Linked DNA regions of Homo sapiens: all the other regions are linked to region 1. The links are contacts of gene promoters, found by promoter capture Hi-C in human tissues and cell types (Jung and others, 2019). All regions are on one chromosome and are shown on one strand. Each heading gives the region's core, a stretch centred on a gene start or on the middle of the fragment in contact. The rest is flanking DNA. Distances are from core to core; before and after follow the strand shown.

Region 1 (4,829 bases), core at 869-3,368:
GTAGGGGGTTTTCTGGAACAAAAGAGTGGTGGGATTCCTTAACCTTCACTATTTCTAGAAGCAAAGGGCTAAGGTAAAATTCAATACTGTCAATAGTCAGGATTGAAATGGCTACATCATATGGTAGGTGTATGTTTAATTCTCTTCATACACTGACAAATGGTTTTCGATCGTGGTGGTACTATTTTATAATCCCATCAGCAGTGTACAAGAATCCCAGGTCCTCCACATTCTTGCCAGTACTTGGTATAATCAGTCTTCTTTGTCCATTCTAGTAGGTGTGAGATGGTGTCACATTGCGCTTGCAATTTGCATATCCTTAATGATTAATGATGTTGAGCATCTTTTCATGTCCTAATTTTTTCTTTCTTTTTTTTTTTGAGACAGAGTCTTGCTTTGTCGCCCAGGCTGGAGTGCAGTGGCACGATCTCGGCTCACTGCAAGCTCCACCTCCCGGGTTCCCGCCACTCTTCTGCCTCAGCCTCCCCAGTAGCTAGGACTACAGGCGCCCACCACCACGCTCGGCTAATTTTTTGTATTTTTAGTAGAGATGGGGTTTAACTGTGTTAGCCAGGATGGTCTCGATCTCCTGACCTTGTGATCCGCCTGCCTCGGCCTCCCAAAATGCTGGGATTGCAGGCGTGAGCCACTGCGCCCAGCCTTCATGTCCCAATTTTCTGTCTGTATATCTTATTTGATGAAATGTCAGTTCAAATATTTTGTCCATCTAAAAAATTGAATTGTTTGATTTTATCTACTGACTTTTAAGCATTCTTTCTATATTCTGGATACAAGTCTTTTTATCAAATATAGCCTTTACAGATATTTTCTTCCAGGCTGTAACTTAGCTTTTCAGAAAGTCTTTGGGAGCTATGGCTTAGTGAAACCCTTGTGCCAGGTTCTCCTCAGCGAATCCCCCTGATCACAGCCACCCCCATAGGTTCCATTTCAATATCTGTGGTGACCTTCTGCAAGCTAGGCTGAAGTCCCAAGCTCCAGACCCATGTCTCCAACTGCCCACCGTTCAATGCCCTTTGGATGTCCCATGCAAATCGGAGCTCACCATCCTCTCCCCAGACCCGCTGCTCCTCCAGGAGCCCTGTCTCCATGAACGGCCCTGCACCTACCGAGCTAGAGACCCAGGAGTTGGCCTTGTACCTCCTTCCTTCTCACTTCCACCTCCTGTCATTCAGAGCTGTCAGTTCTTCCTCCTGAACATCTCTGGACACTCACCTTCTCCACCACGCACCGCACCACCATTGTTCTCAACCGCACCACCCACCCAGACACCTTTCCTCAGACGGGTGGCCAGAGAAAAACTTCTCAAATAGAAGTCGGGACATGGCACGCCACTGAGAACCTTCCAGCGGTCTCCTGTGCACGTAAACAAGGTCCAGACTCCTTCGTGGGACAAGTAAAGCTCTTGATGATCTGGTCCTTGAGTAATGTGGGGGCCACTTGTACAGAGCCCCTCACACTGTTCAAAGTCGGCAGCTGAAGAGCTGAGCAGTAGCTGTCTGTGGAGTTCAGCTGCCACTCCCTACACGCCTGCCCTCTGCAGGGGATGGAGTCCCGTTTCCCCACTTCCCCACCTGCGCCCAGCAGTGCAGGTGAAGGCCTGGCTGCGGAGAGTGGCTGGGAAACGCTGCGCTTTGGGGTCAGGAATGCCAGCTCCACTACTCACCGCCTGTGTCACCCTGGGAAAACAGCTCTGGCCCCAGGTTCTCCATAAGTAAAACGGGGGCAGTCATCCCTCCCCTCCTCAACGACATATGTCAGAATCAGAAGCCACAAATCATTCTCTGCCACCCAGCACGCTGCCTTGGTCTCCTAGACCACTTTCCCCAACAATGGGAAAGGCGCCAGGCCCAGAACAAGGCCGAGACCGGATGAGGCCAGCGAAGCGCCCAGGGACAAACCTTCGGGCAGCGCCCACTCTCGAGTTCAGGCAAGTGCAGGGTCCCTCCGAGAGAGAGCGTCTCCAGAGAACGCGGCTGGCGCCTGGCTGAACCCGTAGCCTGAAGACCCGCCGGAGCCGCCCGCCCCACGATGGGCCCGCCCCTCCGGGATTGGCGCCCTGCTAGTGGCCATTGCCTGTGACGTCACAGGATCGCGCCCGCTTTTCTCTCGGGTGATCCGGCCGAGTGGCCCTGGGTTAGCAGCTGCTGCATTTCCCCGGCTGGCTGCGGTCACTGGTGGCAGTGCTCAGGCGCCCGCCGCCCTTGACCTTCGGCCCCGCGAGCTCTAACCCTACAGCGCAGGAAGATCGGCCGCCGCGGCCAGGTAGGACGAGCCTGGCTGGGTCTAGGCCAGAAGGGTGTCCGTGGCGCCGGTCTCCCGCGGAGCGCAGAACTAGTACCGGATCCCCAGCCGCTTCTGACCACACAGACGGGGCGGACCTGTGTGAGCACTCACTAACTGTCGGGGCTGGAGCTGGGCATATGGGGAAACTGGGGGACCGGCACGGGTTCCAGGCGAGTGGACGGTGGGATGGAATCCGACGTGCACACCCATGTCTCAGGCTTTGTTTGATGGAGGCTACTGTTTCCACCTCATGTCGCCGCCCCTTTGCTTATGGACTCTTGCAGAGTTGGATTGAGCTCGGGCTGTGTGATATAGTGGTTGTTGCAGAAGCCCCAGGGCCACTTTCTGACTAGTACCTTGGGCACCTGACATCATCCCTTTGAGTCTCAGTGTCCTCTTCTTTAAAGTGAGGGCGCTCTACCTGAGGAGATTGCTGTAAGGTTGGAATGAACCTGCATGTGTGTGTCATGTGGGAAGGGAACAGTCAGTGGGGCCTGGGGTTCTCTTGGAGAGCTGGTAACCAGCCTCGTCCCTGAGGCAACAGCCAGAGGGCGCCTGTAGTTTCCCCACGCATGTCTGTTAGCAGTTACGGCCTCTGGAGGATCTCCTGTGGGAGGTCCCTACTTCTCACTACAATCTTTAGAGACTTTGGAGGATTTCCTATGGAAGGTCCCCACTTCTCACCACAACATTCTGGGTTAAAATGGCCTTGGTAGGGGGATGGGGGCTGAAGCTGGATTTTTTTGCTTGCATTACAAGCTTCTGAACCAAGGACTTCATGTCACCTGGACTTGGATTCACATCCCAGCTCCTTCCTCTCCTAGCTCTAGGACTGTGTAACCTTGGGCAAATCTCTTAACCTCTTTAAGCCTTAATTGTTTCATCTGTAAAATGAGGCTAACAGTACCTACCTTCCACAATTGTCGAGAATTAAATCAGACATTGTAGGTAGAGCACTTAATAGTTGGCATTCAGCGGCAGCAGTTACTGTTATGTTAGCATGTGGAGTGTCTGAGTGTGTGCACATTGGCTCGAACAGCCTTTTGACAGTGGCACAGTTGGTGCTTGTGTAAGACAGCAGGGCAGAGAAGTCAAAGCCCTCGGTTTTCTAGTCAAACTGGTGGGCCACAACAGTGGTGACCTAAGTCTAATGAATCTTCAACTGAACAAGGCAGATTGAATCTCCAGGTGAGGACCAAGAGTCTGGGGATCAGCTGCCTCCACATTTTTGGGCATAGAAGGCTGTACAATACCGCCTTTGTTGTAAGAGCAAGGAACCATTCAGGGAAGGCACCATGTGGTAAGGAATAGAGGCCAGACGTGGATTAAGAACAAAACAAGAGAATAGTGTTTGTCTTTAAGTGGAGCCTTGGACTCAAAACAGGATCTGAGCCCTGAGGATTTTTTTTTTTTTAATTGAGATGGAGTCTTCGTCTGTCACCCAGGCTGGAGTGCAGTGGCGCGATCTCAGCTCACTGCAACCTCCTTCCCCTGGGTTCAAGCGATTCTCGTGTCTCAGCCTCCCTAGTAGCTGGGATTACAGGTGGCTGCCACCACACTCGGCGAGTTTTTTGTATTTTTAGTGGAAACGGGGTTTCACCACGTTGGCCAGGCTGGTCTTGAACTCCTGACCTCAAGTGATCCACCCACCTCGGCCTCCCAAATTGTTAGGGATATCACGCATGAGCCACTACAACTGGCCCTTGTGGGAAGGCACAGCCATGTCTCCTGAAGTTAACAAGCACTAAGCTTTCCCAAGTAGTGAAATGTCAAGCCCCTGCTTCTGTCACTTATTTGTTCATTCAGCAGAAAGTCACTGAGAGCCTTCTGTGCACCAGGCACAGTGCTGGGCAGTGAAAGAGACAGACATGTGCCCTGGACCCAGGGAGATGACAAGTGATGGCTGTCAGGCCCAGACCCTGTTGTTTGTCTGCAGCCTCTTCCCTCAGGCAACTTGTTCTCTATCAGGAGAAACGAAATAATTATTATCTGGAGAGGCAGGTGGGGGCGCTGCTCCTAGAAGACTGGGACAGCCTGGTAGAGGTTCTAGCTTGATCATGTGAGCAGTGGAAACCATTTTAAGTAGGAGGTTAACAGGACCAAAATAGCATTTAAAAAATTGTTTATGGCCACTGTGAAGCCAGTTTCACCAGCGTCACTTGCCCATGCTGGGCTGCCACCCAGCTAATTCCTGGTCCTGCTCATTTAGCCCAGCTCAGCTCACATCACTTCCTCCAGAAACTAGAGAAGGGTAGAGCCCCTGACCATCTTCACAGCATTAGTCCTGATAGCTGAATCTTACGTCAGTTGTTAACATCTGTGACCTGTGCAGGGAGAATGGCAGGGCTGAGTTTCACCTACATTGTTTCCCCAATACCTACAGCAGAGCCAAGCACAGTGGGAACTTTCAGAAAGCACTGGTTGAAGGAACGCTGGAATCCCTGGGACTTACTGCGTAGCATGTAGTAGTTGCTCCTCTAGAAAAGTTTCACCTTATGAAGTATAGCAGGTAAAATACAAGCCTG
Region 2 (4,829 bases), core at 1,199-3,698, 400 kb after region 1:
GCCTAGCTCAGCCCTTTTCCCTGCAGGTATGGAGCCAGCTGGGGAAGGCTGGGAGTACCTGGGGTGTCTGTCCTAGGCATCCTGGCAGCCTGGCCCTCAAAGCCACTGCAGGGATAGCTTTGCCTACTTCCAGTGGGCTGTGTGCAAGTTTCCTGGTGGGCCCGAGCAGGCCACCTAAGAGCCTTCTCCTGGGCAGGAATACATCGTCAGTGCCAGAAGCTGCTGGGGCGGCAGACAGACCCTGGAGCAGCTACTGCAGCCCATCATGCTGGGCCAATGGTAGGGGCACGGGAGTGTGGGGTCTCAGGGGGCAAGGCAAGCAGCCCTTCAGCACCAGCTTATGTATCCCCCATATACACACACTAGCAGCCCTCCCTCACCAAATATCCTGGGGTCATCTAGAATAGTTCCAGGTACTCGCCTTGCCAACAGTCTGAGTGTGGGGTATGGCACAGAGGCCTGGATGGGACTGGGGATTATAGAAGCCATCCTCTGTCCTGGGGCTGGGAGGGGGAAACACCCTCACCTTTTAGAAAGCTCTAGGCATTCCCACAGCTGTTTTTGTGTTTGGACCCTTCATCCTGTAATCTGTGTCTCTATCTCAGTACTGCTGTCCCAGACACTGAGAAGGAGCAGGAGTGGACCCCCATAACTGGGCCTCTCCTGGCCCTCAAGGAAGAGGACCAGCTCCTGGTCAGGAGACTGAGCTGTCATGTCCTGAGTGGTGAGGGTGAACCAGATCTGGGCCTTTGAGGGTGGGTCACTGAACCGTCCCCTCTGTCGGGGTCAGCCAGTCACCAGGGTTCTCCATTCCAAGTGAGTGTCTGCACCTGAGGCCCTCTGTGGTACCTCGGGGACATCTGAAGAAGAATGGAACCCTCCTCCTACAGGAGGAGCAGGCAGCCAGGGCCATCATGAGGGAGCAGCTAAGTGCATGCACAGAGATGGTGGCCTGAGGCCAGGAGGCTGCAGCTGCTTCCCCAAGGCCACACCCAGCCCTGCCTTCTGAGCGGAGTCTCCTTAGCTTTGGGTGGGGATGGTGTTAACTGAATGGAATGATACGTGTAAGGGGCTTAGCATAGTGCCTCTGCAGAGGGCCCTTATAGGGAGATCCATCTGTATCTTCTTCAGTGCCCCTCTAGTAGAGGCTGTGGGTTGATGTGTGGGCCCTACGATGAGATCTAGGGAAAGGCCCCCAGCTCCTGGCCTGCTCTCAGCCTGTGTGTGATGATAAACACCACTGCTCCGGGCATACGTTCCTCATCCCTGGGGTGGAGTTGGGATGTGTGGCTAGGAAGACTTGCCAGATCATGGAGGGACCAGGCTGCTGGGCCTCAACCTGACCAGCATCTCCACCCTCCGCCCCACTCCAGCCAGTGTGGGGAGCTCTGCGGTGATGAGCACGGCCATCATGGCGACGCTGCTGCTCTTCAAGCATCAGAAGGTAGGGGGTGCAATGTGGTGGGGACCTGGGCGGTTGGGGTGGGGGGGTGGATGTGTGGCCCTGCTGCTCAGCCCTGCTTTGCCCACCCAGGGTGTGTTCCTGTAGCAGCTCCTAGGGGAGTTCTCCTGGCTGACGGAGGAGATACTGTTGCGTGACTTTGATGTAGGCTTCTCTGGGCAGCTGTGGAGCCTGCTGCAGCACTCACTGAGCCTGCTGCGGGCACACGTGGCCCTGCTGCGCATCCGCCAGGGCGACTTGCTGGTGGTGCCACGGCCTGGCCCAGGCCTCACACACCTCACCTGGCATGGCTGAGTGCTGAGCTGCTGCCCATCTTCCTGAGCGAGGCTGTGGGCGGTGAGTCTTGAGGTGCACGGGGGGTAGGTGCACGGGGGGTAGGTTCACGAGGCGGGTGGATCATGAGGTCAGGAGACCAAGACCATCCTGGCTAACATAGTGAAACCCTGTCTCTACTAAAAATAGAAAAAATTAGCCAGACGTCGTGGCACACACCTGTAGTAGCAGCTATTCAGGAGGCTGAGGCGGGAGAATCGCTTGAACCCGGGAGGCGGAGGTTGCAGTGAGCCAAGATTGTGCCACTGCACTCCAGCCTGAGTGACACAGCAAGACTCCATCCCAAAATAAATAAATAAATAAATAAATAAATAAATAGCTTTTGGGCAGAGATGATGGGGTCAAACAGGGATAGTTTGACTTCCTCTCTTCCTACTCGAATACACTTTATTTCTTTCTCTTGCCTAATTGCCCTGGCCAGAACTTCCAATACTATGTTGAATAGGAGTGGTGACAGAGGGCATCATTGTCTTGTGTCAGTTTTCAAGGGGAATGCTTCCAGCTTTTGCCCATTCAGTATGATATTGGCTGTGGGTTTGTCATATATGGCTCTGATTCCTTCAATACATAGTTGATTGAGAGTTTTTAACATGAAGGTTGTTAAATTTTATCAAAGCCTTTTCTGGATCTATTGACATAATCAGGTGGCTTTTGTCTTTAGTTCTGTTTATGTGATGAATCACATTTATTGATTTGTATATGTTGAACCAACCTTGCATCCCAGGGACGAAGCCTGCTTGATCACGGTGGATAAGCTTTTTGATGTGCTGCTGGATTCGGTTTGCCAATATTTTATTGAGGATTTTTGCATCAATGTTCATCAAGCATATTGGCCTGAAGTTTTCTTTTTTTGTTGTATCTGTGCCTGGTTTTGGTATCAGGATGATGTTGGCCTCATACAATGTTAGGAAGGAGTCCCTCCTTTTCAATTGTTTTGGAATACTTTCAGCAGGAATGGTACCAGCTCTTCTTTGTACATTTGGTAGAATTGAGCTGTGAATCCATGTGGTACTGGGCTTTTTTTTTTTTTTTTTGGTAGGTAGGCTATTTATTACTGCCTCAATTTCAGAACTCATTATTGGTCTATTCAGGGATTCAATGATTCAATCTTGGGAGGGTGTATGTGTCCAGGAATTTATCCATTTCTTCTAGATTTTCTAGTTTATGTGCATAGAGTTGTTTATAATATTCTCAGATGGTTGTATTTCTGTGGGGTCAGTGGTAATATCACCCTTATTATTTCTGATTGTGTTTATTTGAATCTTCTCTCTTTTCTTCCTTATTAGTCTAGCTAGTGGTCAATCTATTTTATTACTTTTTTTCAAGAAACAAGCTCCTCGATTCATTGATCTTTTGAATTTGTGTGTGTGTGTGTGTGTGTGTGTGTGTGTGTGTGTGTGTGTATCTTCTTCAGTTCAACTCTTATTTTGGTTGATTCTTGTCTTCTAGATTTGAGGTTTGTTTGCTCTTGGTTCTCCAGTTCTTTTAGTTGTGATGTTAGGTTGTTAACTTGAGATTTTTCTAGCTTTTGAATAAGGTCATTTAGAGGTATAATTTCCCTCTTAACATTGCCTCAACTGTGTCCCAGAGATTCTGGTACATTGTCTCTTTGTTCTCATTGGTTTCAAAGAACTTCCTGATTTCTGCCTTAATTTCATTATTTAGCCAGGAGTCATTCAGGAGCAGGCTGTTCAATTTCCATGTAGTTGTGGGACACTTCTGAGCTTCATGAGCTCTTGTAAAGTTGGTCTGGTGGTAACAAATTTTCTCAGCATTTGCTTGTCTGAAAAGGAGCTTATTTCTCCTTTGCTTATGAAGCTTAGTTTGGCTGGATATGAAATTCTGGTTTGGAGTTTATTTTCACACATTCACTCATCACTTCCCTGCACAGGCGAAGGGGTTCCCCTTGGCTCTTTGTCACTTCTGGGTGGGCTGTCACCCTGCCCTGCTTTTTTCCATTCTCCATGGGTGGAGCTGTTTTCCTGATCAGTTCCAGTGTGAGTACTTGGATATTTCAGTTGAAGGTGCTGTGTTTACTCATCCCTTTCATTCTTCTCTGTGAGAGCCATGCACCATAGCTGCTTCTAGTTGGCCATCTTGGCCCCCTTCTGGCTGAGCCTAATTCTGTGTAATAGAGGTTGTACATAGATATGCCCTATAAACACAGATTATAGAGAAGGATCATACAATATGATCATACAATATGATCCTTACATATGCACATACATGTGCAATATGGCTCTGCATGTGTCATGCATCAGTCAAAATTACTCTGTTTTTTACTTCAGGGTATCTTGACTATAGTGTTTCATATGTGTTTCTGTTTTTCTCTGTATCACAATTTTAGATCATTGAATGGACTGCTGGGCTAGACCTGGCAAATTCTTCTGCCAAGTGTACTATATGTCTAGGTTCATGTCACTGTGTGATATCGGTGTCCTTGTGACAACTGTAGGGGGATATAAGAGCAACAGTGAAATAAAGTCATCTCTCACAGCTGGCATGTATATTCCTATAAATTTATGTGAACAGGAAAATAGACACAAATTGGAACCATGGAATTCAAAAAACGGTCTCTTAAATGAAGTCACAGAAACTACGTGGAAATTTAAAACGTTGAACCCTGTCCTCAGTTGTATGCACCTCTGCACAACAGGTCTATCTTCTGGAAGGGTAAGGTATTTCTTCTCACATTTTTTTCCTTCTGTCTTCTAAAAAGCTTCATGTGAAAGCAGAAGACTCATGAGAAGACATCTAGAGACTGGCCCTAAAGTGCTTTTCTCCACAGGAATGTCACCCAGGCACTACATCCAGGAGTCTCAGGTGCCACTGGGTTCCCATCCTCAGTGAGGCAGAGCTGGGAGAAGGCACACAGCATTCAAATTTCCTTCAAGTCACTTGCTTAAGGTATACATTGAAGGTTCAAACTAAATTCGAAATCTTTTTTTTGTTGTTTTTTACAATTAGCACTTTTTTGTTATTTTTTTAATATATATATTTTTTATTACACTTTAAGTTCTGGGGTACATGTGCA
Region 3 (4,829 bases), core at 977-3,476, 320 kb before region 1:
ATCTCTATTAATTGTGGCTCTATTTTTCTCTGTAGTCCAATCAGTTTTTGCTTTATGCGTTTGAAGTTCTATTTGTAGGTGTCTGAATGTTTAGGACTGCTATGTTGTCCTGATGAATTATTATTATAAAATGGCCCTCTTTATCCCTAATAATAGTCCTTGCTCTGAAATTTACATTGTCTAGTATTAACATATCCTTCAGCTTTCTATGAACTTACATTAGCGTGGTTTATTTTTCCACCCTTTTACTTTCAACCTATCAGTCTTCATATCTAAAGTGGATTTCTTATAGGCAACATATAGTTGGGTCTTGCTTTTTAAAAATGAAATCTGGTAATTTCTACTGTTTAATTGACATGTTTAGACTTCTGGTTTCTGGTCTGGTGTATAAGGAGCCTGGAGGCCAACACTCCATACTAATAAGTAAAAACTTAAATAAACTGAAAAATCAAAACCTCTTCTTAGATTTATCAAAGAATTGAGTTCACAGGGCAAACTGGTGTCTCCAGAAGTTGAGAAATTGGCTAGACTCAAAGAATCACAACTTACCAGAGCAGAAACCCACTGGCAGAACCATTCCAGGAAGAAGTTCAGGGTAGGGAAAACTCAACTTAACTGATGAATTGCTAGACGCTCAGTGCGGCCAAATTTGAAAGGTGAAAACTCCAGAGGGACCCAGTCCTGGTGGGGAACATTTCTACGAGTTTTACCTCCAGGAACTTACCATGTCCCCACAGTGAACACCTACCAGGCTCCTCCTGCTTCTGGCTTGTTTCCTACAAGAAAGCTGCTGTCATCTTTACCTTTGTTCCTCTGTACCTAATCTTCTCTCTCTTCCTCACTTCTAAAACTTCCTCTTTATTGCTAGTTGAAATTTGATTGATAGTTATTATATTTCTTGGGTCTCAGTAGTTGCCATCAATTCAGCTATTATTTCTTCAAAAAAACTTTTTTTTGAGACTTGCTCTGTCACCCAGGCTGGAGTACAATGGCGCGGTCTCGGCTCAGTGCAACTTCCGCCTCCTGGGTTCAAGTGATTCTCCTGCCTCAGCCTCTGGAGTAGCTGGGGTTACAGGCGCCTGCCACCATGCCTGGCTAATTTTTGTATTTTTAGTAGAGACAGGGTTTCACCATGTTGGCCAGGCTGGTCTCGAACTGCTGACCTCGTGATCCACCCGCCTCAGCCTCCCAAAGTGCTGGGATTACAGGCGTGAGCCACTGCGCCCGGCCATTTCTTCAAATTGTTTTTTATACCTCCCTTCTCCACGGACTCCAATTATACACGTATTTGGCTCCCAAAGTTGTCCCATAGTTCTCTAATGCCCAATTTCTCCTACCTTCTTCAGTCTTTTTCCTGTTTAAGTTGCTGTCTTCCAATTCTTTCATATCTTTTTCTGAGATGTCCAATCTGCTGTTAATCCCATTCAGCGTTTTTCATCAGATATTGCAGTTTTCATCTCTAGAGGTTCAACTTGGTGTTTTGTATCTTCCATGTTTTTCTCTCTAGCTTTCTGAACATATGGAATACAGTCATAATACCTGCTTTAATGTCCTTGTCTACTGATTGTCATTGTGCCATTCCTGGGTCAGTTTTGATGGACTAATTTTTCACTTCATTATGAGCTTATGTTCATGCTTCTTTGCATGCCTAGTATTTTTGTTTTTGTTTTTGTTTTTTTTGAGATGGAGTTTCGCTCTTGTTGCCCAGGCTGGAGTGCAATGGCATGTTCTTGGCTCACCACAACCTCCACCTCCCTGGTTCAAGCGATTCTCCTGCCTCAGCCTCCCAAGTAGCTGGGATTACAGGCATGTGTCACCACGCCTGGCTAATTTTTTTGTATTTTTAGTAGAGATGGGGTTTCTCCATGTGGGTCAAGCTGGTCTCAAACTCCTGACCTCAGGTGATCCGCCTGCCTCGGGCCTCCCAAAGTGCTGGGATTACAGGCGTGAGCCACCGCGCCTGGCTGCCTAGTGATTTATTAGATGCCAAGTATTGTATATTTTACTTTATTGGGTATATTTTTTGTATTCCTATATTCTTGAGCTTTGTTCTGGAACACAATTAAGTTACTTTGAAACAGTTGTGTTCCAGTTTGGTCTTGTTTTTAAGCTTTCTGAGTTGGGACCAGGGGTAGTTTTTATGTAGAGTTAATTTTTCTACTACTAGGGCATCTTAGTTCTCTTCCAATGCCACCTAGATTACAAGGTTTTCCACTGTGACTGTTGATAACAGGCACTATTTTCCACTCCAAACACTGTTCCCTCTAATTCTTTTGGGTGAGTTTCCTCACCGGCATGCACTATTAGTGTGTAACTAAATATCTGATGGAAACTCTCTGCAGATCTTAGTTCTCCTGCTGTGCAACTCTCTCCTCCAAGGCATTCTCCCCTGTGAACTCTAGTCATTTCGACTGCCCAACTGCACCTCAACTCCAGGAGACCGCCAGGTCCTGATGGGGTAACCCTTCCTAGAACCACGGACTCTCCGCAGATAGTAAGTACAGATAATTTTGTTTCCCCTCTCCAAAGGATCATTGTCTTTTATTGCTTAAAGTTCATTGTCTTTATATTTGTTAGGTACTTAAGAAGGAAAACTAACAGGACAGATAAGTTTTAGGAAATAACTACCTTACTCTAGCAAAATACCACACACAAAAAAAGGGGACCCACCCACACCAGACAACGTCACAGGCTGAAAACTTTCACCATCCAGCCTAACATGGCCTGCTCCCTATCCCACGGTGCCATTAGGGTGCTCCTCCTACTTCCAGCAGAAAGGCCTCAGCAGAGGTCCCGAGGACAGCGACAGGAGGAAACCTGGATCTCCATCCTCACCAGGCAGTAACGAGGCAGTGCCCCATCCCATACCAGCACCGTCAGAGGAAGCATGCTGAGAGATTTAAATAACTCCCAGAGCTTCATAACAGTGAAGATGACCAGGATACAGCCAAAGTCACTCATCATAACAAGAACTAGGACATTGTAAACTTGAATGAGAAAAAACCTCAAGGGATGTCAACACTAAGATGACACAGATGTTGAAACTTTATGACAATTTTTTTTTTTTTTTTGGAGACAAGGTCTCACTCTGCCACCCAGGCTGGAGTGGCATGAACAAGGCTCACTGCAGCCTCAACCTCCTGCAATCAAATGATCCTCCCACTTCAGCCTCCTATGTAGCTGGGACTACAGGCATACACCACCATGTGTGTCTAACTTTTAAATTTACTTTTACTTTTTGTAGAGATGAGGTCTCACTTTGTTGCCTAGGCTGATCTCAAACTCCTGGGCTGAAGCAATCCTCCTGCCTCACCTTCACAAAGTGCTGGGGTTATAGGCGTGAGCCACCACACCTACCTGATGACAAAGATTTTAAAGCAGCCACCATAAAAATGCTTCAGTGAGCAATTATAAACACTCTTGAAGCCATTTAAAGAAAAAAAAAGTCTCAGCAAATAGCCTCAGCAAATAAAGAGAAGACATAAAAAATAAACCAAATGGAAATTTTAACTGAAATATACAATGACAGTCAAAGTTAAAGTACTGCATGGATGGTTCAAGAGCAGAATGGAAAGGAAAGAGTAAATAACCAGTTATTCTGAAGATAAAACAATAGAAATTACCTAAACTGAGCAACACAGAGAAAACAGACTGGAAAAAAAATAAACAGCGCCTCAGGGACTCACGGGACAATAGTAAAAGATTCAACATTTTGGTCATCAGTGTCCCAGAAAGAGGATGTGGGTGGGGCAGAAAGAGTATGCAAAGAAATAAAAATATATATATTCCACAGAATGGGTAAAAACTTCTGTAAAGCATGTATGATAGGGGGGCTTATATCTAGAAACTATAAGGAACTCAATAATAATAAAAAATAACTTTTTAAATGGGCAAAGGCTCTGAATAGACATTTCTCCAAAAAACATATACAAATGGCCAATCAGCACATGAAAAGATGTTCAACATCATCAGCCATCAGGGAAATACAAGTCAAAATTGCAATGGTATACAATTAATATACCATTTAACATTCCCAATAGTAGCCTACAACTTCCATTTCCACTGTGGAAAACGGTTTGGAAGTTCCTCACGGTAGTCAAGTTACTTAACTGCTCTGTAAAATGAAGTTAATCACATTCACTTTGGATGAATGAGTTCATATATATTAGCTATAATTACTACAGCAATTATCATTGTGTACATTATTACTGATTGGGTCAAATTATTAACCCCGTCTCCCTAATTCATTTACTTTTGTTACTTTGGATGAATATTTAAAGTAGTCTTGAACTGAGATATGTATGTAAAGGTTCTATCACATTGGCATATAACATGTGCTCAACAAATGAAAGCTATAATTATTTATTTCCAAAGAGTTTAAAGATTAAACTTCCCTCAAAACAAACAAAAGGCAAGGTAACATCCCAAGCTGTGAGGGGCTGAGTCTCTCCTAGGTGCAGGGCAGCACAGGAACTGGCTGCACAAGGCCAGAGAGGTTACGTGGCGGCTCTCTTCAAATTAGACCACACAGAGCGCTTCATTCCCTGTGCAGTCTTCACATCTTCCCAGTCCAGTTTGACGTCTGGAACCTCATCTTCTGGCTCTGGATCCTTCCTCAAGGGCCCCCGGGGGGACGCAACCACAATGGGCAGAGGGCCACATTCCTCCCGGATTTCCACAACATGGAGGCCCTTCTTATCAGCCAGCTGTTGATGGGTTTCCTAAGCAAGACCAAATTCAGAACAGGTTAGGTCTGAAGTACATTTGCAACATAAAGAGCAGGAACTTCCACAGGCCACAACAGTACAGCCTGGGGGTATTCAAAGGCC

What was found. Contacts are between HindIII fragments. The study calls those that stand out against the background at their distance.
Region 2: a contact is called between a fragment that was not itself captured here and the fragment with the promoter of FAHD2A in region 1, in 2 of the 25 tissues and cell types used here (aorta and dorsolateral prefrontal cortex).
Region 3: a fragment that was not itself captured here is called in contact with the fragment with the promoter of FAHD2A in region 1 in 1 of the 25 tissues and cell types used here (H1 embryonic stem cells).

The regions. Positions count from the first base shown.
Region 1 is chr2:95,400,590-95,405,418 of GRCh38, forward strand. It overlaps FAHD2A (fumarylacetoacetate hydrolase domain containing 2A), which reads left to right and starts at 2,119. Exons shown (of 8, transcript NM_016044.3): 1 at 2,119-2,283. RefSeq lists enhancers at 889-1,828, 1,758-1,837, 1,829-2,767, 2,908-3,027. The HindIII fragment of the contact is 15,771 bases long and covers 1-3,558 here.
Region 2 is chr2:95,798,371-95,803,199 of GRCh38, forward strand. It overlaps LOC128966744 (glycerol-3-phosphate acyltransferase 2, mitochondrial), which reads left to right. Exons shown (of 16, transcript NM_001422178.1): 11 at 1-26; 12 at 197-279; 13 at 606-724; 14 at 1,374-1,444; 15 at 1,535-1,743; 16 at 1,746-1,821. The coding sequence ends at 1,821. It also overlaps the pseudogene GPAT2P1. Among named protein-coding and RNA genes, the nearest start is that of LINC00342, 26 kb to the right of the region's middle. The HindIII fragment of the contact is 3,229 bases long and covers 835-4,063 here.
Region 3 is chr2:95,082,861-95,087,689 of GRCh38, forward strand. MRPS5 (mitochondrial ribosomal protein S5) reads right to left here. Exons shown (of 12, transcript NM_031902.5): 12 at 2,509-4,721. The coding sequence ends at 4,497. Among named protein-coding and RNA genes, the nearest start is that of MRPS5, 37 kb to the right of the region's middle. RefSeq lists an enhancer at 4,593-4,829. The HindIII fragment of the contact is 8,892 bases long and covers 1-4,829 here.